Regions from separate parts of the Homo sapiens genome. Here all the other regions are linked to region 1. The links are contacts of gene promoters, found by promoter capture Hi-C in blood cells and fetal thymus (Javierre and others, 2016). All regions are on one chromosome and are shown on one strand. Each heading gives the region's core, a stretch centred on a gene start or on the middle of the fragment in contact. The rest is flanking DNA. Distances are from core to core; before and after follow the strand shown.

The links. Contacts are between HindIII fragments. The CHiCAGO score rates a contact against its expected background, and 5 or more counts as called.
Region 2: a fragment that was not itself captured here is called in contact with the fragment with the promoter of RLF in region 1 in 11 of 17 cell types (fetal thymus, naive CD4 T cells, total CD8 T cells and 8 more); the score reaches 11.4 in fetal thymus.
Region 3: a contact is called between a fragment that was not itself captured here and the fragment with the promoter of RLF in region 1, in 8 of 17 cell types (naive B cells, total B cells, fetal thymus and 5 more). The highest score is 7.5, in naive B cells.
Region 4: a contact is called between a fragment that was not itself captured here and the fragment with the promoter of RLF in region 1, in 7 of 17 cell types (naive B cells, total B cells, endothelial precursors and 4 more). The highest score is 7.4, in naive B cells.

The regions. Positions count from the first base shown.
Region 1 is chr1:40,159,998-40,162,864 of GRCh38, forward strand. It overlaps RLF (RLF zinc finger), which reads left to right and starts at 1,390. Exons shown (of 8, transcript NM_012421.4): 1 at 1,390-1,639. The coding sequence starts at 1,403. It overlaps LOC105378671 (a long non-coding RNA gene), which reads right to left and starts at 1,281. Exons shown (of 3, transcript XR_947232.3): 1 at 968-1,281. RefSeq lists a silencer at 1-53 and enhancers at 1,062-1,678, 1,166-1,675, 1,679-2,294. The HindIII fragment of the contact is 5,693 bases long and covers 1-2,867 here.
Region 2 is chr1:40,375,309-40,378,175 of GRCh38, forward strand. The region is part of intron 1 of SMAP2 (small ArfGAP2); the gene reads left to right. Among named protein-coding and RNA genes, the nearest start is that of SMAP2, 3.0 kb to the left of the region's middle. The HindIII fragment of the contact is 1,058 bases long and covers 970-2,027 here.
Region 3 is chr1:40,350,636-40,353,502 of GRCh38, forward strand. It overlaps a transcript of SMAP2 not described here. Among named protein-coding and RNA genes, the nearest start is that of SMAP2, 22 kb to the right of the region's middle. RefSeq lists an enhancer at 1-14. The HindIII fragment of the contact is 278 bases long and covers 1,312-1,589 here.
Region 4 is chr1:40,295,098-40,297,964 of GRCh38, forward strand. No RefSeq gene overlaps it. Among named protein-coding and RNA genes, the nearest start is that of COL9A2, 21 kb to the right of the region's middle. The HindIII fragment of the contact is 4,052 bases long and covers 1-2,867 here.

The sequences.
Region 1 (2,867 bases), core at 140-2,639:
CTGTTTTGGATACTAATCAAAACAATGGTTATGGCTGGGCGCGGTGGCTCACGCCTGTAATCCCAGCACTTTGGAAGGCCAAGGCGGGCGGATCACTTGAGGCCAGGAGTTCGAGATCAGCCTGGCCAACACAGTGAAACCCCGCCTCTACTAAAAATACAAACATTAGCCAGGCATGGTGGCGGACGCTTATAGTGCCAGCTACTTTGGGAGGCTGAAGCACGAGAATCACTTAAACCTGAGAGGCAGAGGTTGCAGTGAGCCTAGATCGTGCCACTGCACTCCAGGCTGGGTGACAGAGTGAGACCCTGTCTCAAAAAACAACAACAATAAACAATGGTTATATATATGGGGAATATCATTTAGTCTGTGGCTTGTCTTTGTGTGCTTTTTCAACTTGTTATACGGAAGTAACACATTTTAATACAGTCAAATCTAAATATTTTCCCTTATGGTTTGTGCTTTTCCGGTCTTATTAAGAAATTCTTAGCCGGGCGCGGTGGCTCACGCCTCTAATCCCAGCACTTTGGGAGGCTGAGGCGGGCGGATCACCTGAGGTCAGGAGTTCGAGACCAGCCTGACCAACATGGAGAAACCCCATCTCTACTAAAAATACAAAATTAGCCAGGTATGGTGGCGCATGCATGTAATCCCAGCTGCTCCGGAAGCTGAGGCAGGAGAATGTTTGAACCAAGGAGGCGGAGGTTGCGGTGAGCTGAGATAGCACTGTTGCACTCCAGCCTGGGCAACAAGGGTGAGACTCCGTCTAAAAAAAAAAAAAAAAATTCTTCCCTATTTTTGACATTATAAAGCTATTTTTATTTTCTGAAAAATGTTTGCAGGTCTTTAATCCATCTCGGCCTTATTTTTGGAAATGGTTTGAGGTAGAAATCTAATCATTTATTTCCCTTTTGGAAAAAATGTCTCATCGCCATTTATTGAAGAGTCTGTCCTTTCGCCCACTGACTTGTAATGCCGTCTGTATCATAAACCAAGTTCCCTTGATGTTACTCTTCATTTCGGCCTCACAATCTTTGCTTATTTTCCTTCTACCAGGGATGCTTTTCGCTATGTTCCTTTCAGGGCTACCTTCCTCTTGTCCCTTCAGATCGCAGTTCAAATGTCATCCCCCTCAAATCTAGATTGCTCTACAGGCATTTCTGGCTCCGTGATCCCATGACCTCAAAGGGGTCTAGGTGGGCATAGCCTCTAGCCAGTTGTTGCTAGGCTGTTGTCAGGACTGGCGATGCGTAGGCCACTGAGAGCACCCGGAGTCCGAGTGACGGAATCAGGCGGGCGCCCGCGTCGCTAAGGAGTGCGTCACAGTGCGCGGGCGGCCGGGGGCAGGGCCAGGGCTGAGTCACGTGGCTTGGTTGCCTACGCGCTGGTGGGCCGTGGGAAGATGGCGGACGGAAAGGGAGACGCCGCCGCTGTCGCCGGGGCTGGGGCTGAGGCTCCGGCGGTAGCGGGAGCCGGAGATGGAGTCGAGACTGAGTCCATGGTTCGGGGTCATCGCCCCGTATCTCCAGCGCCGGGAGCCTCGGGACTGCGGCCGTGTCTGTGGCAGCTGGAGACAGAGCTGAGGGAGCAAGAGGTGTCGGAGGTCTCATCTTTGAACTACTGCCGGAGCTTCTGCCAGGTGAGGGGCTGACTGGCTGGCTGAGGGCGGCGGGGCGGGGAAGTCAGGGAAGGAGGCCCTGGATCCTCTGTAAGCAGCCGGGTCCAAACTGAAAGGCGCCACCTCCGTGACTCGCCGCGCCCCCGGGCCGGGAAGGCCCAGCTCGGAAGCTCGACCGCTGGCCCCCCTGCGCCACTGCCCGACTTTGGCCACCGCTGGGTCGTTTTGCTCTGAGCCTTACTGAGATCCCGGAGGGCCCTGGCGGGTCCCTGGAAGGGCTGTGCCCTGTCGCCGTTGCCTGTGTCCTGGCCGGGTGGTTGGAGCGCCACTGCCCCCTGAGGGATTGATTGCTTGTCCCTGCCGGGAGATCCTTTTTTGAGTGGAGTGCAGATCTCCGAACTGGTAAACCCGGGTTTTTCTGAATAATCCAGAGAGGTGTGTTGGGGCCAGAGACTTATTTTTGGAGTTAACATCTTCTGGGCTCCTAAAAGGTATGACAGTTGGCTTCGAAAGGCGTCTAGAGCTTTCTGATTAGGGATTGCGGAGCCGGTTGGTTGTTTGGTTTTTGCTTTTTTTTTTTTTACGTTTAAGCCGTTCTTTCGTCTTTTCTGTATTTCTTTGAGAGGATTGTGCTACCGAGAATAAGGCTGACTCTTTGAGTAGAAGAGGATGGGAAGAGGGATGTAGAGTGTGGCCTCTTTTGGCAGTCGTATGATCATTTCTGTGCCTTGGTGGGTCCTAACCTATGATTACATATTTATGGGTGTGTTTAGTTTAGTCTCCATGACCACTCCGAGATTTTTCTGTATGTTTTCAAGTCTTTTACAAATACAAATATTGGCCATTATTATTTCTGCTTCCAATGTTTGTTCTGTCAGGTTTCAGAGGCACCCATCAGCTCCTTATCTGTTGTACCTTAGAAAATGCAAAATAATCGTGGCATGTTGGTACTTGGAGTCTAATAAGTAGTCCAGTATGCTGAATAAATTGCGGCGTTCTAAAATAATAATTTTGGGGGGCAATTTGCTCTGTTGGTCCGGAGTAGAATAAAAGTTAGCTTGCTTGATTGCTTTTCTTCCCTCTCTCTGCCGAGGCAGAAGCACCTCATCTCTCTGAATGGAATTTTGTCCTTACTAATCTTTTCCGTGGATTGTACCACTCCAATTTTTGTGTGTACAACCTGCAACATTGCCCTGTACTATTAAATGTTAACGTGTTGTTGTTCTCTGCTTCCTTAGTAGTAGTCATC
Region 2 (2,867 bases), core at 249-2,748, 220 kb after region 1:
TTTGCCATGGTTGTTTGCCGTACAGCGTAGTGGGCATATACTATAAAACAAAGATTCAGTTATATTCGTATTTATCTATTTTGAGAAAGGAAGGACATATTTAATTGATGCTTTCACTTAATTACCTTTTATTTTTGAAGAATAAGGTTATAAAAGGAGAACAGGGGAGGGATACATAGACACCTAGTAATGTATTTTAGTGACCTCTACCAACAGATAAATGGAATGTGCCATTAGGAAAACAAATTCCTAGACTTCTTTCCTGAATTTTTGCATTAGCAATAATTCATTTTAAAAAGTATTTTAGAATCAATTTATGTTGAGTAGGTTAGCTTCTTGATTCTTGTTACATCTTCTGTTAGGTCTATTGGAAGATTTGGTTTATTTTAGGAGTGTATCTTGGCTTTATTCAAATTCCCTTATGTCCTCATTTGACAGATCTTGAGTCACAGTGAAGCAACCCACTGGAGTGAGCATTGCTGCATTTGGAGAGTCAGATGCCATTTTGGTGACTAGAACCCCCCCCCCCATTTCTCATATTACCCTTATACTTACTCATATTCCAATAAAATACAGCACATGGAAGAGAGAGGCTGATTCACTACTTCTTCCTCCAAATTTCCATTGCTTTTTATTTATTTTATTTTTTATTTTTATTTTTTGAGACAGTTTCGCTTTGTCGCCCAGGCTGGAGTGCAATGGTGCAATCTCGGCTCACTGCAACCTCTGCCTCCCGGGTTCAAGTGATTCTCCTGCCTCAGCCTCCCGAGTACCTGGGATTACAGGCGCCCGCCACCATGCCCAGCTGATTTTTGTATTTTTAGTAGAGACAGGGTTTCACCATGTTGGCCAGGCTGGTCTTGAACTCCTGACCTCAGGTGATCCACCCGCCTCAGCCTTCCAAAGTGCTGGGATTACAGGTGTGAGCCACCATGCCCAGCCCGAAATTTCCGTTGCTTTTTATTAATAAGCTTACTGGGGATCAGGTTATGAAATATCAGTTAATTCTTAATGAGAACTAGTAACTGCTGGCTTGTAAACTTTATTAACTACTGTTGATGGTAGAATCCTGGATCCTCAATTTCTTTTCAGAAGTTCGTTTTACATTTTACCAGGTGGCTTCAGGGACTTGGTCATTGTATTAAAAATGAGATGACAATGGGTCAGTCATCTTTAGATTATGACAAATAGGCATTTGTTGAGGCCTCTGTTTATCCAATTTATGAATTACCTATCCCATTCCACCCCTCCAAGCCCTCTCACTCTTTTTCCCCTGCTGTTTTCTAATTTTGGTTGTCATAATGATCATTTGGACAACTATCAGATTGTTGAAGGAAAAGACGTTTGGATCAATAAATTGTTACCTGTTAGCGCTGATAAAAAATACATTTCATTGGAGGAGGAATTTAAAAAGTGTTGGCTAAAATGAGAATTGGGTTTCAGTTTATTTACCTGTATTCCTGTGTCCTTTCCTAAAAAATTGGAAGTTAACTGTACAGGATATGGTGAGTGATTGCTCATCTATTAATATCCAGTTAGATGATGTGGCATAGACTATCGACCTATGAGCAGGTATTTTTGCAATGTTCCAAAATATAACTCTTTGGCAATGACTTTTATTTTTAAATTCTTATACTTATTTAGGAACATTTATTAGTTGACTTTCAAGGTATGTGATTTAAACTTCGGAATAGAGGCTGGGTGTGGTGGCTCAAACCTGTAATCCCAGCACTTTGAGAGGCCAAGGAGGGAGGATCACTTGAGTCCAGGAGTTCAAGACCAGCCTGGGCAACATAGTGTGACCTTGTCTCTACAAATAGTTAAAAAATTAGCTGGGTGTGGTGTTGTGCATCTGTGGTCCCAGCTACTCAGGAGGCTGAGGCAGGAGGATCACCTGGGCAACTGAGCCCAGGAGGTCGAAGCTGCAGTGGGCCATGATTGAGTGCCACTGCGCTGCAGCCTGGGTCAGAGAGCAAGACCCTGTCTCTAAAACAAAACACAACAAATAAACATCAGAATAGAGAACAAGCTTGTGTTCTTTTTACTTCGTACAAGTTTTGTTGATCCTGGGGTTTTTAACTGTCCTGGGCACGAGTCTTACCAGTTTCTGGGACCACTAAACCATTCCAGTAATTTCAGTGTGGGAAAGGAAACTGCTTTGGGGCTGCCTATTTAAGAAATGCTATGATTCTCTCTAGGCTCAAGATGTGATTTCTTCATTACCCAAAGCCCTGGGGTTAATGTGACTTTTAGGGTGAACTTTTGGACTAACTTAGGTAGTGATAGAACAGAGGACAAAACTACTGAAAATTCCAGATATGTCAATGGTAACTCTGGCTGATTGAGGCTGGGTTCCATTTTTGGGTATGGGTCATACTTCCTTTGTACTTGGGGTCATACTGGTCCAAGTTTTAACTTCTAGCTCAGCAGTTCCAGATTTTATCAGTGTGTCAGGAATAATTGCTAAGCCACCCCGTCAGAGACTGTGTTTTAAACTGGACACTATCTTATTTACCATGAAAGGATCTACAGTTGTCCTTTGGTATCCAGGGGGGATTGGTTCCAGGAACCTTCTGGGGTACTAAAATCCACAGATGCTCAAGTCCCTGATATAAATGTTGTAGTGCTTGCATATAACTTATACACATCCTCCCTTATACTTTAAATCATCTCTAGATTACTTATAATATCTAATACAATGTTAATGCTATGCCAGTAGTTGTTACTCTGTATAATTTAGGGAATAATGAGAAGGAAAAAAGTCTGCACATGTTCTGTACAGATGCAACCATTCATTTTTTACTGAATATTTTCTTTCCTTTTTATTTTTTTTAGAGACGGGGTCTTGCTCTGCCACCCAGGCTGGA
Region 3 (2,867 bases), core at 201-2,700, 190 kb after region 1:
GGCCCCAACCTGTGAATCCAGGGAAGTTGCCACTTAAATCAATGGCCCTAGCAAGGGCCTCTTGTGTCTATTTGGATGAAGATTTCAGGTATGTGGCACCTAAAGGCTTCTTAAACTCAGGAATTAATTGGAAGGAACCAAACTGACACCATTAGTGAAGAGGTTTAGTCATGTGAAGAAATTTCTATATCTTTTTCTAAAATAAGCATTTTAAAATTATGTTGTTCACTGGGATTTTTACAAAATCATTTATCTTTGGATTAAGAAACCTGTGATACTATTCTGCCCCATTCTGCTCATTAACTCATTACAAATAATAATTGTAAGCCTCCAGAGTGGAGACTCTGAAGACTCAAAGTCAGGAGCAGATCCAAACAATCTCCCTCCTTACCCAGAATCACAAGGACCTGTCGTAGACAAGAAGTTCCCTTGTGCTTGTCCTACTCTCCTTGGAAAAGAATCCTCTCTTGTTCCATTTTCTGGTGCCTTCTGGAGCACCCCAGCTTTGATGGGGAGCTGGTGGGTCTCTCTTCACAGATGTCCTACTCCCTCCTTTCTCGTCATTTGGGAGTGGTGACAGAGAGCAGGGCTGAGAGGTTATTGGAGAGAGGAGGGACTCTGTGGCCTGACAAGGAGGGGAAAAGGAGATACTCATCTGTCTTGGCACTTGTTGGAGATTGTCCATTGCACAGATTGCACAAGAAACGCTGTGGACAAGAAGATAGAATCTCAGCTCTGGTCTGAACTCTGTCTTTTCTAGTTAACCTGGATCTAGAGTCTGTTCAGAGTATAAATTTATTCTGGTGATGAATACAGAATACAATGATTAACTCCTTGACTCCTTAAAGAAATGATTCTTTCATTTTTATTTATTTATTTATTTTTTGATACAGAGTTTCACTCTTGTTGTCCAGGCTGGAGTGCGATGGCACGATCTTGGCTCACTGCAACCTCTGCCTCCTGGGTCAAGCGATTCTCACGCCTCAGCCTCCGGAGTAGCTGGGATTACAGGCGTGCACCACCAAGCCCGGCTAATTTTGTATTTTTAGTAGAGATGGGGTTTTACCATTTGGTCAGGCTCGTCTCGAACTCCTAACCTCAGGTGATCCACCCACCTTGGCCTCTCAAATTGCTGGGAGTACAGGGGTGAGCCACCGCGCTCAGCCTATTTTAATTTTTTTTAATAGAGACATGGCTTTACCATGTTGGCCAGGCTGGTCTCGAACTCTTGGCCTCAAGTGATCTACCCACCTCGGCCTCCCAAAGTGCTGGAATTACAGGTGTGAGCCACCGTACCCAGCCAGATTCTTAAGCTTCTTTGGGTTATGCACATCCCTGCAAATCTGAGGCCCTCTCTCCCCAAGACTGCACACACCCGCACATCCATGAATTTTTTTTTCTTTTTGTAAAGTGAAAGCAAGTTTATTAAGAAAGTAAAGAAACAAAAGAATAGTTACTCCATAGGCAGAGCAGCTCCATGAAATTTTTCATACAATTTCAGGGGGTTGATATTATAAATAATGTTTAAAATAAATAGTGTTGATAAGGTGCCAAAGTCCATCTGTGGACCCAGGATAAGATGCCCTCCAAGCTTTAATGATATTAGGAACAGGGTGGAGTTCAACCTTCTCAGCACAGCATACAAGGCCTTTCGTGATCTGGCCCTCACCCTCTGTCCAGCTTCTCCTAATGCTTGCCACATGTAACCTCTCTAGCAGCTCAGAGTTCTTTTTCAGTTCTGCATTTTCATGCATTTTAATCTCTCTGCCTATAATGTTCTCCTCCTTGATTGCTCGGAAAAGAACTCCACTCTGTCAAGGCAGAGTTCGTCACTTCTTTCTCTTCTTCCTTCTTTGTTGTTTCCCTTGCTCATTTTAAAATATTTTAATTTAAAAAGTTTTTCTATTTTTTTTTACTTTTAAAGACAGGATCTTGCTCTGTCATCCAAGCTGGAGTGCAGTGGCATGATCATAGCTCACTGCAACCTTGAACTCCCAGGCTCAAGCAATCCTCCCACCTTAGCTAGGACTACAGCAGCAAGCCACCATTCTCTGCTAATTTTTTAAAAAGTTTGTAGAGACAATGCCTCGCTATGTTGCCCAGGCTGGTCTCAAACTCCTGGCCTCAAGCGATCCTCCCTCCTTGGCCTCCTAAAGCTCTAAGATTACAGGTGTGAGCCACCACACGCGGCGCCTCCTCCTCATTTTTGATGGGAAAGGATTATTTTAGCATGATGTGTAATGATCTCGACCACAATTGATAGATATTAACAACAATGAAATTTTTATGTCTGGGTACTCCCATCTGAAGAATCTGAAAGTTCTAAGACTACGTTTGCAGATGGAGTCAGGCATGACGTTTTCCATGGTCCTGACCACCATGGACTCTATGGCAGACATTGTCCGGGGTTGCCCACAGCCATGTCCAGCACCCATCTCTCTTGCTGCCTCCTGCCATAAGGGCTTTCCTGGTGTCCTTTGCAGTTAGAGGCTGAGCCATGCAACCTAGTTTTGGCCAAGGAGTCTTAAGGGAAAGACTGCTGTGAGCTTCTCGGAAAACTTTTGTTTTCCTGATAAAAGAAACAGCTAAGATTGGGGACATTCCTTTTCTCTTCTTCCTTCATTGGAAGATGATGCAATGTTTAGAGCTGTGGTGACCATCTTGTGACCATGAGGTGATTTACATGAGCAGCAGTTCTCATACTTGAATGTGCACCAGAATAGTCACCCAGAGGGCTTCTTTATTTTTTTGAGACAGAGTTTTGCTCTTGTTGCCCAGGCTGGAGTGCAATGGCATGATCTCAGCTCACAGCAACCTCCGCCTCCCGGGTTCAAGTGATTCTCCTGCCTCAGCCTCCTGAGTAGCTG
Region 4 (2,867 bases), core at 101-2,600, 140 kb after region 1:
ACCGCAACCTCCGCCTCCTGGGTTCAAGCGATTCTCCTGCCTCAGCCTCCCAAGTAGCTAGGATTACAGGCTTGCGCCACCACGCCTGGCTAATTTTTTGTATTTTTAGTAGAGATGGGGTTTCACCATGTTGCCCAGGCTGGACTGCAATGGTGCGATCTCGGCTCACTGCAACCTCCACCACCCAGGTTCAAGAGATTCTCCTGCTTCAGCCTCTTGAGTAGCTGGGATTACAGGCATGTGAGCCACCACATCCGGCTAATTTTTGTATTTTTTTCTTTTCTTTCTTTTTTTTTAAGACTCTCTGTCTCTCTGTCACCCAGGATTGAGTGTAGTGGCATGATCTTGGCTCACTGCCACCTCTGCCTCCCAGGTTCAAGTGATTCTCCTGCTTCAGCCTCCCGAGTAACTGAGATTACAGGCATGGGCCAATACACCTGGCTAATTTTTGTATTTTTAATAGAGACGGGGTTTCTCCATGTTGGCCAGGCTGGTCTCAAACTCCTGACCTCAGGGGATCCGCCCACCTTGCCCTCCCAAAGTGCTGGGATTATGGGGTGAGCCACCGTGCCCAGCAAATTTTTGTATTTTTTAGTAGAGATGGGGTTACTCCATGTTAGCCAGGCTGGCCTCAAGCTCCTGACCTTGTGATCTGCCTGCCCTGGCCTCCCAAAATGCTGAGATTACAGGTGTGAGTCACCACTCCTGGCCATGTTCTTATATACTTTCTATATCTTTGATGGTTTTGAGTATTCTGCCATCATTAGCAGAAAGCTAACTACCACTTAAGGGCCTTACGTTCTATCCTAAGGGCAAAACAAAGAAAATTACAGATAATTTGTAATCCAAAACTTTTATCCAGAAACATTTTAAGACCACAGTGATGTGAGCAAGTAACTTGAACGATGTGTGCCAGGCTGAGTTCAGTTTTGTGGGAAGGCAAATATAATCCATTGTGGAATGGGATAGTCCCATTTAGACAATATGGATAAGGAAATCTTGGGCTCTTCTCTGTTATCCAGGATGATTTCCAGGGAGGAGGATTTCCTAAACAGTTTGACCAGAAACAGCTAGGAAGATACCTCTGTGTGTTCTAAAAACCTGTGAAGCCGGGACCGCCAATACTCAGGAAGCAGATTTGCCTTACTCTGCCCTTGGCTGAGTCCGAGCTCCCCTCTGGCTCTCTGGATGATGGTCAATAACAGGTAAAGTATTAGGATTAAGCCTGGGGCTCTATAATCCAACATGCCACTTACTAGTAAGACTTTGGGTAAGAAACTTGACCGAGACTGTATTTCTCCATCTGTCCCCACTCTACCAAGCGCTGCTCTAGGTGATGGGGAATACATGGTAAACAAAAGGTACAAAAATCCGCCACGTCTTGGAGTTTACATTCTAGTATCAGGGAGAAAGACAACTAAAATGTATTTATATGGTGATACATGTTTTGGAAAAAAAGGCGGGGGCTGAGGTGTTTGGGTGGGGGTAGGAGCTGCAATTTTATTTTATTATCTTTTATTTTTTTGAGATAGAGTTGCACTCTGTCGCCCAGGCTGGAGTGCAGTGGCACGATCTTGGCTTACTGCAACCTCTGCCTCCCGGGTTCAAGCGATTCTCCTGCCTCAGCCTCCCAAGTAGCTGGGATTACAGGCATCCACCACCACACCTGGCTAGTTTTTGTGTTTTTAGTAGAGATGGGGTTTCATCATGTTGGCCAGACTGGTCTCGAACTCCTGACCTCAAGTGATCCACCCGCCTTGGCCTCCCAAAGTTCTGGGATTACAGGCATGAGCCGTGCCTGGCCAGCAATTTTAAATAGGGTGGTCACAAAAAGGCATCACTGAAGGTCACATTTGAACCAAGACCTGAAGGAAATGAAGAGTGAGGTGTTCTAGGGAGGTGTCTGAGGGAAGAGCATCCCAGACGCTAGATTTTGCAGGGCCTTGTAGGCCACTGTAAGAATTCAGGCTTTTCCTTGAGTGTGGTAGGAAGCCATTGTAGAGTTTTAGGCTAAGGAGTGACATGATCTGAAGTTTTAATAGGACCACTCTGGCTTCTATGTTGAGGAGCAAAGGTTGAAGCAGGGGACTAGTTGGGAGAGGCTTGCAATCCTTCTTGCAAGAAATAATGGTGCTAGACTGGAGTGGTAGTCAGGAGGTGGTAAGTGGCTGGATTCTGGATATATTTTTAAGACTGAGCCAACAGGATGTGCTGATGGATCAGATGTGGGGTCTAAGAGATAAAGTGGGAGTGGAGGATGACTCCAGTGTATTTGGCTTAAATAACTGAAAGGATGGAGTTGCCCTTGGGTGAGATGGGAAAGATCGCAGGAGGGGGGATTCTGGAGGGGAAGATCAGGAATTGTTTCGGACATGTTAAATTTGAGATGCCCATCAGACATCGAAGGGGAGATGTTGAGTAGGCAGTTGGATCGACGGATCAAGTTAAGCAGCGAGATCTGGACTGGGGATATATAGATAAAGTTTAAAGCCATGAAACTGAATGAGATATGAGAGGAGCCAGAGAAAAAGATGTGGTCCAAGGAACAAGTGACTTTCAGATACTGGAGACATGAGAAATCAGCGCAGGAATCTGAGAACAGTGTGGTGAGCTAAAAGCCAAAGTGAGACCAACCCTCCCCATAAAAGGGAGCAAAAATTTGGGATAGTATCTACAGGTGGGATTGAGACAGAGATTTTATTTTTTAACATGGCAGATGGGGTAATACCTACTTTACAGGGCTGTGGTAGGGATAGTATGAGATAATGTTTGCAGACACTTAGCACAGTATCTAATAATATAAGAGCTCAACAATTGATACTTGTTGGTGATATTAATAATTCACCCTAATTGCTATGATGTAAATA